2 separate regions of the Homo sapiens genome follow, and region 1 is linked to region 2. Evidence: promoter capture Hi-C in 16 types of primary human blood cells and fetal thymus (Javierre and others, 2016). All regions are on one chromosome and are shown on one strand. The core of a region is centred on a gene start or on the middle of the fragment in contact, and the rest is flanking DNA. Distances in the headings are between cores, read along the strand shown. Region 1 holds the start of YEATS2 (YEATS domain containing 2). Region 2 overlaps LAMP3 (lysosomal associated membrane protein 3).

Region 1 (6,114 bases), core at 1,721-4,220, 570 kb before region 2:
CGAAGTCTCCCTCTGTCGCCCAGGCTGGAGTGCAGTGGCGCGATCTCCGTTCACTGCAACCTCCACCTCCCGGGTTCAAGCAATTCCCCTGCCTCAGCCTCCCGAGCAGCTGGGATTACAGGCCTGGGCAACAGACTGTGATTCTGTCTCAAAAAAAAAAAAAAAAAAGAAAGAAAAGAAAAGAAAAAGAAAAAATCTGCTTCACAAGTCTTGTTTTCTGTGAGAAAACTGCATCAACTCCCACCATCTACTGGGTATCACGACAGAAAACAGACTGAAAGCAGAGCAGGACCAAAGGCAGGGAGATAGGGAACAATCCAAGAACGTGGCAATGAACATTCAAATAAAAATCCGTAGTTGATGAGAAGAGGACAGGACCAACTATTTCTGAGAATCTATTCTAAGAAAATACAGGGTAATGTACATCGTATGTGGGCTACACTCAGAGATCTACAACCTAAATGTTAATTCTCTTCTTCCTATGGATTTTATAATAAAAAATAACCCACAGTAAAATATCATGCATCCACTGAATGAACATGAAGCATTTGAAACTGAGAAACATGTGGGGAGAACTCTGCATGCTGTATGTCAAGCTACCTATTTTTAATATCTAAAGAACTTTTGACAATCAATTAGGAAATAACAAAAGATGACAGAGAACAGGAAAAGAAATTCACAAACAGCCAATAAATGGGAAAAAAATGTTCAAACATACTAGTAATCAATAAATGAAAAAAACACAAGACACCATTTTTCATCGATTAAGTTTAGTTTTGGGGCAGATGGAAATGGGGCACTTTTTTTCTAATTTGCACTCATTAGTTTCATTTCCTCACATCCGGTTCCCACCTCCCACTTCCAGAACTATGGACAGGAAGACCAATGACCAAAACCAATAACCACCGTGTTGCCAAATTCAATTGACAATCTTAATGAACATCTCAGAAGCCCTGATAAAAGGACCAATTCAACATCTTCCAGAAACACCTCTTTTGGCTGCCATGATACATGCCATTTTGGTAGGAGCTTTTTCTCCTACCTCACTTGCTGTTTCCTGCGTCCTTTCCCCAACCTTCTTCCTCTACCAGACCTAGAGGTATTTGAGTGTCTGCGCCCTTTTCACTTCTCCACACTCTTTCCCCTCAGTGATCTCACACAGCACCATACCTTTGAATATCATCTACGTACAGATCACTCCCAATTTTTTTTTTTTTTAAGAGACGGGGTCCTTCCTGCCTTGTAGCCAAGGCTGGTCTAGAATATCTGGGCTCAAGCGACCCGCCTCGGTCTCTCAAAGTGCTGGGATTTCAGGTGTGAGCACCGCGCCCAGCCACTCCCAGATTTTTATCTCTAGCTCTAGCCTCTCTCCTCCTTGAGTTCCAGCCCTCTACATCCAACTGCCTCAACACACCGACTTCATAACTAACATGCATCTAAAATTTAATACATCTAAAATAGAATTCGTTTTTCCCACCTCAAATTTCTCTCTTCCATTCTTCATCTCAGTAAACAGCACCACCACCTACTCAGTTGCTCAAAACAAAAATCAAAAAAGCAAAGATTCCCACCATTCCCTCACCAATCCAAGTCTTGTTCATTCTACCTTAAAACATTTAAAAATCTGTTTATACTTCCCCATCTCCCTGCCACGGGCCTAGTCCAAGCTACTGCAAAGAGCACAGTAACTGACCTCGTAGGTTCCTCCCCAGCCCTCTTCCTCTACATAGCAGTCGGATCATGCTACTCGCCTTCTCAAAACCTTCAAAGGCTTCCCGGGAAAAACTAAACTCCTTATCAGGGCATCATCTGCCCTATCTTTTAAAGAGTATACACAAACAGGAATATACATCCAAGGGTAGTATCTCTAGATCGTAAAACTGCGGGCATTTTTCTCTGGCTTTGCTTGTATTTTTAAATTTTTCTACGCTGAATACCCTCTACTCATTAAGAAAGGGGAAATGATATTGCTGAATTCTATATAATATTATACCGCATTTTTTACATGTGAGCGAGAAAAGGGAATGGAAAACGTGGGTCAACTCTGTAACTGCTGAATGCTTAGATGAAAATACTAGCCAACATCAAACTAAAAAAAAATGATGTGTCAGGCCTGTAAGATTGCTGATGGCATTTCTCTTCCTCTGGTTTCTATTTCTTAACATAATCACATTCATGATGGAGAAAACCTCATTGTCTTCTGCAGTCTGGCCACAGCCCTTCAAGCCAGCCTTTCCTGCAGGAGTCCTCACTTTCCGAGGCTTCCACTCCGCCCCGCACTGCCCGCAGCTCCGGCGCGTTGGCCCCGGCCCCATCCCTGGACCCCCAAAGCCTCTCTGACCCCTCCCCTCCATCCCAGGGAGGCCCGGTGGGGATGGCGACAGGTTGGAGGGGCATTCCAGGATCCTTTCGGTAAACCCACGACTTTCTGGTGCTGGGGCCAAATCTTGCCTCCAAGGCCAAGAGCTTAACATCCTAAAAGCTCCGGCCGCTGTGGCTCGGGGTCCCGTATCCCCTCAGCGCAGCGCCCCGCTGAAGAGGAAGCCCCCAACTCACGTTCCAATTCCAGGCTCCCGCTTCTGCGGCTCCCCGGCCCGCACCTGGGATCCTCCCTGCCCTCCCCTCGGCCCCGGGGCCTCACCGGGTCCCGCTGCCGCGCTGCCTGCCGATGGGGGAGGGGCGCGCACGTGCCCGCGCCGCCCCCGCCCAAACAATGCCCCGGAGAGCGGGGCGCGCTCCCGGCCGGTCCCTTCCTGCGCCCGCCAACACTCACCCTTTCTCCGGGTCTCCGGCTGCAGCGCGGGCCCCGCCGGCCGCCGCGAGAGAGCACGGCGAGGTGAGAGAGCGGGCGAAGCCCCGCGGAGCTGCCCCGCCACAAGGCCCCAGCGACCCCCGCAACCTGCGGAAGCACACGGCGCGGTGGAGCCCGCCCGGCGCGTTCCGCCCCGCACGTCAGCAGCTGGGCGCGTCGGGGCGCGCGCGGCGGCGCGCGCGGCCTCGGGGCGGAGCTCCCAGGGATGAGGGCGGGGCGGGGCGGGGCGGGGCTGGTCCGGGCTGGGACCCCGGCCCGCGAGGGCACTTCCTGGGCAGTGTGGGCGTCGATTCTTGCAAAGGCACAGTCGTCCATCACTTTCCTGCCCCAGAAGATGGCGAATTTCAACCCCAAGTTTGACAGAATATTCATTCTGCCGGCGTGTATGAGCTTCCCTATTAATCACAATAGTGACTATGATGTTTGTGTGTGCCATCTTTGTGCCAACCCATGTGCTAAGTGCTGGGTATACAAAATAACAGTAGTTATTTCTAGCCCATTTTACAGATGAAGAAACTGAGGCAGGGAAGGCTTGAGACTTATCTCAGTCACACTAGCTAGTGACAATCCAAGTCCAGTTTTCCACCTAAATATCACTTGAGGCCAACATTCTCTTTCGTTGTAACTCTACCACCCTACCCAAGACCCTGTAATCTCTCTGCCCAAGACTATGAATAGCCTCCCAACTGGTCTTGGGGAACTTCTGTTCCCCTTCAATCCCTTCTCACTGTATAACGATTTACTACTGGAGCTGAGTGGTGGGTTTAGGAAGTTCACTTTTTTTTTTATACTTTACATACATGTTACCAAATTTTTAATGTATTTAATGTTTTTATCAACGCATAATAAATATAAGTGGTGTTTTGTTTTTTGTGTTTTTTTTTTTTTTTGAGATAGAGTCTCCCTCTGTTGCCAGGCTGGAGTGCAGTGGCATGATCTTGGCTCACTGCAGCCTCCGCCTCCCGGGTTCAAGCGATTCTCCTGCCTCAGCCTCCCAAGTAGCTGGGATTACAAGGCGCGCGCCACCACGCCTGGCTGATTTTTGTATTTTTAGTAGAGACAGGGTTTCACCATGTTGGCCAGGCTGCTCTCGAACTCCTGACCTTAGGTGATCCACCCGCCTCAGCCTCCCAAAGTGCTGGGATTACAGGCGTGAACCACCACCCCCAGGCTAATTTTGGTTTTTTTAGACAGGTCTCACTATCACCACAGCTAGTCTCACACTTCCGGGCTCGAGAGATCCTCCTGGCTGGGCACGGTGGCTCATGCCTGTAATCCCAGCACTTTGGGAGGCTGAGGCGGGCGGATCACCTGAGGTCAGGAGTTCAAGACCAACCTGGCCAACATGGTGAAACCCCGTCTCTACTAAAAATACAAAAATTAGCCAGGTGTATTTGGGCATGCCTGTAATCCTAACTACTTGGGAAGCTGAGGCAGGACAGTCACTTGAACTCGGGAGGTGGAGGTTGCAGTGAGCCATTGCACTCCAACATGGGCAACAAAAGTGAAACTCCATCTCAAAAAAAAAAAAAACTAAGAAAGGCTTCCTTGAACCTTAAGCTAAGACTCAAGAGATAATAGGAACTGGGGAGATAAACAAATTTCATGGAGAAGGGGGTGAGGTCACAGGTCAGGATGAGTGTGTTGGTGTTCCCCTACTCTTAGGGTTTAACAGTGAGGTGGAAAGCATAGAAATACCCAGATAAGTGCCAAGAAAGCTAGAAGCTGACTTCCCTTGGTGTAGCTTGGAAGGCTGTCCAAGTCTGTGAGAAGGCTCACACAGTAGGGCTTGGGAGCAGGCCATGGCGTTGGGAGGAGTCTGCAATAGTGCTGCTGGAGCGCTGCAGCTTGCACATTTAGGTATGTCAGAATTCCAGACTTCTCTTGTTGCTCCCTGCCTGGCATGCAGAAAGTAGCATGGTTAAGAGCCATGGACAGACCAATAGGCACTGTGCCAGGGGGCAGGTTTCCTAAAGCAGAGGCCTTGTGGTGGGCTGATGGCCAGGGAATGGCTACAGAACGTAGCTAAGACCCCAAGGATAGGCAGTACTGAAGATACCAGTGGAGCTGAAGCACCCCTAAGTCAGCTGGTGAGAGGAGCGGGGATGGAGGAGTGGGGATGAAAGATGAGACATCAAACTCTGAAGGTGCTAAAGCAACAGGTCATGAGCTTGCCAACCAACCACCTCAGCAGCTGATGCCTGCAGGGCAGTGGAGACCAGAAGTCACCAGAGACATAGCAGCAGAGGCCAGTGAGAACCCAGGCTATAGCTTGAAATCCCGCACACAGATCTCCCCTCCCACCGCTGCCTTGAGGCTTCCCCTGTATCCTGTAGGCCGCCTTGGGAAGTCAAGGGGAAGAAGGGTAAAGTTCTGATAAGACTACAACTTTGAACTGTTTACCCAAATATTCACCAAAATGAAACTTTTTTTTTTTCTTTTGAGACTGAGTCTTGCTCTATTGCCCAGGCTGGAGTGCAGTGGTATGATCTTGGCTCACTGCAACCTCCGCCTCCTGGGTTTAAGTGATTCTCCTGCCTCACCCTCCCGAGTAGCTGGGACTACAGGCGCGTGCCACCATGCCCGGCTAATTTTCTGTATTTTTAGTAGAGACGGGGTTTCACTGCGTTAGCCAGAATGGTCTCGATCTCCTCATCTCGTAATCTGCCCGCCTCAGCCTCCCAAAGTGCTGGGATTACAGGCGTGAGACACCACACCCAGCCTATTTGCCCTTTTAAAAACATCACTTGCAGCTGGGCGCGGTGGCTCGCGCCTGTAATCCCAGCATTTTGGGAGGCCAAGGTGGGTGGATCACCTGAGGTCGGGAGTTCGAAACCAGCCTGGCCAACATGGTGAAACCCCATCTCTACTAAAAAAAAAAAAATGCAAAAATTAGCTGGGCGTGGTGACACATGTCTGTAATCCCAGCTACTCTGGAGGCTTGAACCTGGGAGGTGGAGGTTGCAGTGAGCCGAGATCATGCCACTGCTCTCCAGCCTAGGTGACAGAGTGAGACTCCGTCTCAAAAAAAAAAAAAATCATTTGCCCCAATGAGTAGGTGGGGAATGACTGAAGAGGTGTGTGAACATAGAAGCAGTGAGACAGTTGGAAAGCAATTTCAGTCATCCAAGCAAAAATTGAGGGTGGCACTGGTCGTGGTGGCTCACACCTGTAATCCCAGCACTTTGGGAGACGGAGATGGGCAGATCACCTGAGGTCAAGAATTCAAGACCAGCTTGACCAATATGGTGAAATCCCGTTTCTACTAAAAATACAAAAAAATTAGCTGGTCGTGGTGGCTT
Region 2 (5,976 bases), core at 1,300-3,799:
TACTTTTTAAAAAAGAAAAAAAAAACATAGACAATGTTAAAAACAGTGACATAACTATTCAAAATTTGGAGTTGTCTGGGCACAGTGTCTCACACCTGAAACTTTGGGAGGCCGAGGTTGGAGGATCACTTGAGGCCAGGAGTTCAAGACCAGCCTGAGCAACATAGTAAGGACCCCATCTCTTCAAAAAAGTTAAAAAGTAGCTGAGTGGGGTGGCATTTGCCTGTACTACTAGCTACTTGAGAAGCTGAGGTGGGAGGATGGCTGACCTCAGGAGCTGGAGGCTTCAGTGAGCTATGATCGCACCACTGCCCCCCAGCCTGGGCAACAGAGCAAGACCCTGTCTCAAAAAAAAAATTGGGGGAGTTGAAGAGAGGGGAGATGGAAGGGACTCTGTTAGTGCTACTCTTTCAAAACAGTATCAATAGATAATGTTTAAACTGGAAACGAAGTTTAGTAAACACAAGTCCAATTTATTTCATAACCTCTTAATGTATTTCATAATTGTTTAATGCATACTTCATAATCTCTTTTTAGAACTCTAAAGGGACCCTTTATGAACCAATATTTCCCATGACAAAGAAACATTGGTTTGTGATAATTCCTTCAAGTTCTTTTATCCTATTAAACACAAGTAAAATTGAAATTAACAAATGTAATAAAATAGTACTTGTATGATCCTATCTTAATAAAAGTATTTCTATTTATTTTTCTAACCTATCTATCCTTGTAGTTCTAAAGAAAGAGGCCTGAAATAATGTTTCTCCATATTAGCAATGACATTTCTTGGTGGATGGTCTTGGGGTAATTGGTTTTACTTTTTTGTTTGTGCTTTTTCTCTATTATTTTAGTTATTTATAATGAGAATAGACTATTTAAAATAGAGTGATTTTGCTTTAAGCATGCACGTGAGTTTGCACACATGCACACGTGTGCACACACACACACACACACACACACACACATTCACAGAGGAACTACATGCCCAAAAAGGTTTATAGTGATTGATTCAAATAGAAGAAATGGGGTGATTGGATCAGTCACTTCTTTTCTTTGTGTACTCTTTTGCATTTTAGAAATGTTTAAACAATGTTAAATAATTTAATAGCTTAACAAGAGAGAGTAAAAGTTGCCCTCCACTTCCTTCCCAGTCCTCCTGCCAGTTTTTGGTGTATCTTTTCACACTGGACCCACAAGCACATGGGTTTGGGTTCACATGATACTTCACGGAGCTTAAGGAACTTCTGTTACAGAACACCGAGACCTACCACGTTCTTTTTAATGGCTATATTATTTTCTATTGTCTGAATACTATTTTAGTTTTTACGTATATTTAAATTGTCTCATAAAATGGACAGTGCTGTAATATACCTTTGCATAGTGTATGAATATATCTTTGGGATAATTTCCTAGAGATAGAATTATTGGGTCAACAGGTGTGTGCATTACATTTTGTTTTAACTTTTTGTATTTTTTCCCACTCATTTTAATTCCTTAACTTGTCAAAGTTCTTTTTTCGTTTAAGAAATATAGGCCAAGTGTGGTGGCTCACGCCTGTAATCCCAGCACTTTGGGAAGTCAAGGATTGCTTCAGCCCAGGAGTTTGAAACCAGCCTGGGCCACATAGCAAGACCCCATCTGTAAAAAATAAAAAATTGGCCCAGCATGGTAGCACACACCCCTAGTCCCAAGAGGATGAGGTGGGAGGATGGCTTGAAGTCAGGAGTTCCAGGCTGCAAAAAAAGAGAAACATATATAAGTAACAAAGTTTCATGTACTCCAAAAGGTCTTATCATGGAAAGCAACATTTCTCTGTCCCTCTGCCTCCCTGCCCCAAGATACAAGATACTTTTAACTAATTTTAACAATTTCTTCTGATTGCTATCTCCATAACTCTAAAAAATAAAAGCTTATCATGATAGTTCCTAATTGATCCATTTTAGACTTCCTGCTATAGCACATAAAGATTTGTGGTTACACAACTATTTTTGGGTAAATCAGTAAGGTATTAAGGCACACATTATTATAGTTTTATAAATATTGTCTGCTGTCAAGCCAAATCGTGTACTACAATCACAGTTTCTTTCTTGTCCAAATTTTCTTTTTCCTGGAATCTTTAATTAATTGCCACTCTGTCTTCTCTGACCTCTTCTGATACTTTTTTTCTCAGATCTCAGGTACACTGAATTGGGTTGATGGTGATCCTTGGTTCAGGACATAATTTCAGTGTTAGTTCGTACAATGACCTCACACATGTATCTTTTTAGCTATAATGACTAAGACATGGTTCTTCATTTATTTGCTCTTTTCTCCCAGTCTCTTCATTAGAGTATTCTATCAACTTCCCCTTTTACCCCAGACCCCTCCGTCTTTCCTCGGTTGAGATTTATTAGTCTCTGACCCAATCAATTACATTAAATGAATTGAGTAAGCGTTTTCTAATGGTATAAAGAAAAAACAGTCTTGATAAGTTTGTAAACTCTCACTTTTAAGCTCTCATAAATAATTTGGTCTGTTTTCTAATATTAGCTAAAAGTAATACAATAGAACCTTAGGAGTGACAAAAATGTTTTATAAAGTGGATAAAAATCATGTTTCTCAAGAGATCATCTGTAATCTGGTCACTGGTCACACAAATGTTTTTTGTTTGTTTGTTTGTTTGTTTTTGAGATGGAGTTTCGCTCTTGTTGCCCAGGCTGGAGTGCAATGGTGTGATCTCGGCTCACCGCAACCTCTGCCTCCCGGGTTCAAGCAATTCTCCTGCCTCAGCCTCCCGAGTAGCTGGGATTACAGGCATGTGCCACCACGCCCGGCTAATTTTGTATTCTTAGTAGAGATGGGGTTTCTCCATGTTGGTCAGGCTGGTCTCAAACTCACGACATCAGATGATCCGCCCGCCTCGGCCTCCCAAAGTGCTGGGATTACAGGCGTGAGCCACTGTGCCCGGCTGGTCTCTTTTATGTAAGCATATCCCACTTAGCAGGGAGTATGCCTGGAGTGACTTCTTACTCAGTTCAGGAAATAAGGATTATGATTATTGAATGTTAATTACTAAGAAAATATGGTTATTTAATCTTCTGACAGTCTTACATATTATTTGCTTACTTTATAAATTAGGAAATTGCAAGGGTAAATTACCTGCCCAAGGTCACAAAGCTAGTTAATGGTGGAGTTAAAAGTCAAGCTTTGTTTGATGCCAAAGCTCATCTTCTTTCCCCTCTAGCCTGCTTTCTGGACTGCATCACCAAACCTTACCCACTGTATTGTATTTGTTTTCTCTCTTAGTGGATGAGTGCTCGTCTGACTACACAATTGTGCTTCCTGTGATTGGGGCCATCGTGGTTGGTCTCTGCCTTATGGGTATGGGTGTCTATAAAATCCGCCTAAGGTGTCAATCATCTGGATACCAGAGAATCTAATTGTTGCCCGGGGGGAATGAAAATAATGGAATTTAGAGAACTCTTTCATCCCTTCCAGGATGGATGTTGGGAAATTCCCTCAGAGTGTGGGTCCTTCAAACAATGTAAACCACCATCTTCTATTCAAATGAAGTGAGTCATGTGTGATTTAAGTTCAGGCAGCACATCAATTTCTAAATACTTTTTGTTTATTTTATGAAAGATATAGTGAGCTGTTTATTTTCTAGTTTCCTTTAGAATATTTTAGCCACTCAAAGTCAACATTTGAGATATGTTGAATTAACATAATATATGTAAAGTAGAATAAGCCTTCAAATTATAAACCAAGGGTCAATTGTAACTAATACTACTGTGTGTGCATTGAAGATTTTATTTTACCCTTGATCTTAACAAAGCCTTTGCTTTGTTATCAAATGGACTTTCAGTGCTTTTACTATCTGTGTTTTATGGTTTCATGTAACATACATATTCCTGGTGTAGCACTTAACTCCTTTTCCACTTTAAATTTGTTTTTGTTTTTTGAGACGGAGTTTCACTCTTGTCACCCAGGCTGGAGTACAGTGGCACGATCTCGGCTTATGGCAACCTCCGCCTCCCGGGTTCAAGTGATTCTCCTGCTTCAGCTTCCCGAGTAGCTGGGATTACAGGCACACACTACCACGCCTGGCTAATTTTTGTATTTTTATTATAGACGGGGTTTCACCATGTTGGCCAGACTGGTCTTGAACTCTTGACCTCAGGTGATCCACCCACCTCAGCCTCCCAAAGTGCTGGGATTACAGGCATGAGCCATTGCGCCCGGCCTTAAATGTTTTTTTTAATCATCAAAAAGAACAACATATCTCAGGTTGTCTAAGTGTTTTTATGTAAAACCAACAAAAAGAACAAATCAGCTTATATTTTTTATCTTGATGACTCCTGCTCCAGAATCGCTAGACTAAGAATTAGGTGGCTACAGATGGTAGAACTAAACAATAAGCAAGAGACAATAATAATGGCCCTTAATTATTAACAAAGTGCCAGAGTCTAGGCTAAGCACTTTATCTATATCTCATTTCATTCTCACAACTTATAGGTGAATGAGTAAACTGAGACTTAAGGGAACTGAATCACTTAAATGTCACCTGGCTAACTGATGGCAGAGCCAGAGCTTGAATTCATGTTGGTCTGACATCAAGGTCTTTGGTCTTCTCCCTACACCAAGTTACCTACAAGAACAATGACACCACACTCTGCCTGAAGGCTCACACCTCATACCAGCATACGCTCACCTTACAGGGAAATGGGTTTATCCAGGATCATGAGACATTAGGGTAGATGAAAGGAGAGCTTTGCAGATAACAAAATAGCCTATCCTTAATAAATCCTCCACTCTCTGGAAGGAGACTGAGGGGCTTTGTAAAACATTAGTCAGTTGCTCATTTTTATGGGATTGCTTAGCTGGGCTGTAAAGATGAAGGCATCAAATAAACTCAAAGTATTTTTAAATTTTTTTGATAATAGAGAAACTTCGCTAACCAACTGTTCTTTCTTGAGTGTATAGCCCCATCTTGTGGTAACTTGCTGCTTCTGCACTTCATATCCATATTTCCTATTGTTCACTTTATTCTGTAGAGCAGCCTGCCAAGAATTTTATTTCTGCTGTTTTTTTTGCTGCTAAAGAAAGGAACTAAGTCAGGATGTTAACAGAAAAGTCCACATAACCCTAGAATTCTTAGTCAAGGAATAATTCAAGTCAGCCTAGAGACCATGTTGACTTTCCTCATGTGTTTCCTTATGACTCAGTAAGTTGGCAAGGTCCTGACTTTAGTCTTAATAAAACATTGAATTGTAGTAAAGGTTTTTGTAATAAAAACTTACTTTGGAGATTTGTGCATGTCATTTATTTTTTATGATTCATTTTTGTGCTGTATAAATTTTGTTTACAATCATCTTAGGTTTTTGCTCCGATCAATAAGTTAAATCATCTTTCTATAATTTGTTTCATTCTATTCTCCATTGCCACATTATCACTTGGTAGGAATTCCTGAGAAGATAAACCACATTAAAGTTACATATGAAATGTCTCAACTCTTAGCTTAGACTGACTGCATTACTAGTTTGCTTAAATGTCGCCACGTTTGTTCATTCATTCATTTGATCAGCATTGATAAGGATTTGCTAAATGCCAGATACTCTTGTAGGAGCTGAGATAAATAAGAGGTCCTATATTAGTTACCCATAGTGATCTGAGAGAAAGAGAGAGAGGGCTGGGAGCGGTGGCTGACACCTGTAATCCCAGCACTTTGGGAGGCCGAGGCAGTCAGGTCACGAGGTCAGGAGTTTGAGACCAACCTGGCCAATATGGTGAAACTCCGTCTCTACTAAAAGTACAAACAAATTAGCTGGGCATGGTGGTGTGCACCTGTAGTCCCAGCTACTCGGGAGGCTGAGGCAGAAGAATCGCTTGATCCCGGGAGACAGAGGTTGCAGTGAGCCGAGATCATGCCACTGCACTCCAGCCTGGGCGACAGAGCGAGACTCCATCTCAAAAAAAAAGAGAGAGAGAGAGACTGAC

What was found. Contacts are between HindIII fragments. The CHiCAGO score rates a contact against its expected background, and 5 or more counts as called.
Region 1: the fragment with the promoter of YEATS2 here is called in contact with a fragment that was not itself captured in region 2 in 1 of 17 cell types (erythroblasts); the score reaches 5.9 in erythroblasts.

The regions. Positions count from the first base shown.
Region 1 is chr3:183,694,653-183,700,766 of GRCh38, reverse strand. It overlaps YEATS2 (YEATS domain containing 2), which reads right to left and starts at 2,970. Exons shown (of 31, transcript NM_018023.5): 1 at 2,774-2,970. RefSeq lists a silencer at 2,596-3,065. The HindIII fragment of the contact is 10,471 bases long and covers 1-6,114 here.
Region 2 is chr3:183,121,524-183,127,499 of GRCh38, reverse strand. LAMP3 (lysosomal associated membrane protein 3) reads left to right here. Exons shown (of 6, transcript NM_014398.4): 6 at 3,286-5,285. The coding sequence ends at 3,419. Among named protein-coding and RNA genes, the nearest start is that of MCCC1, 25 kb to the right of the region's middle. The HindIII fragment of the contact is 1,275 bases long and covers 1,912-3,186 here.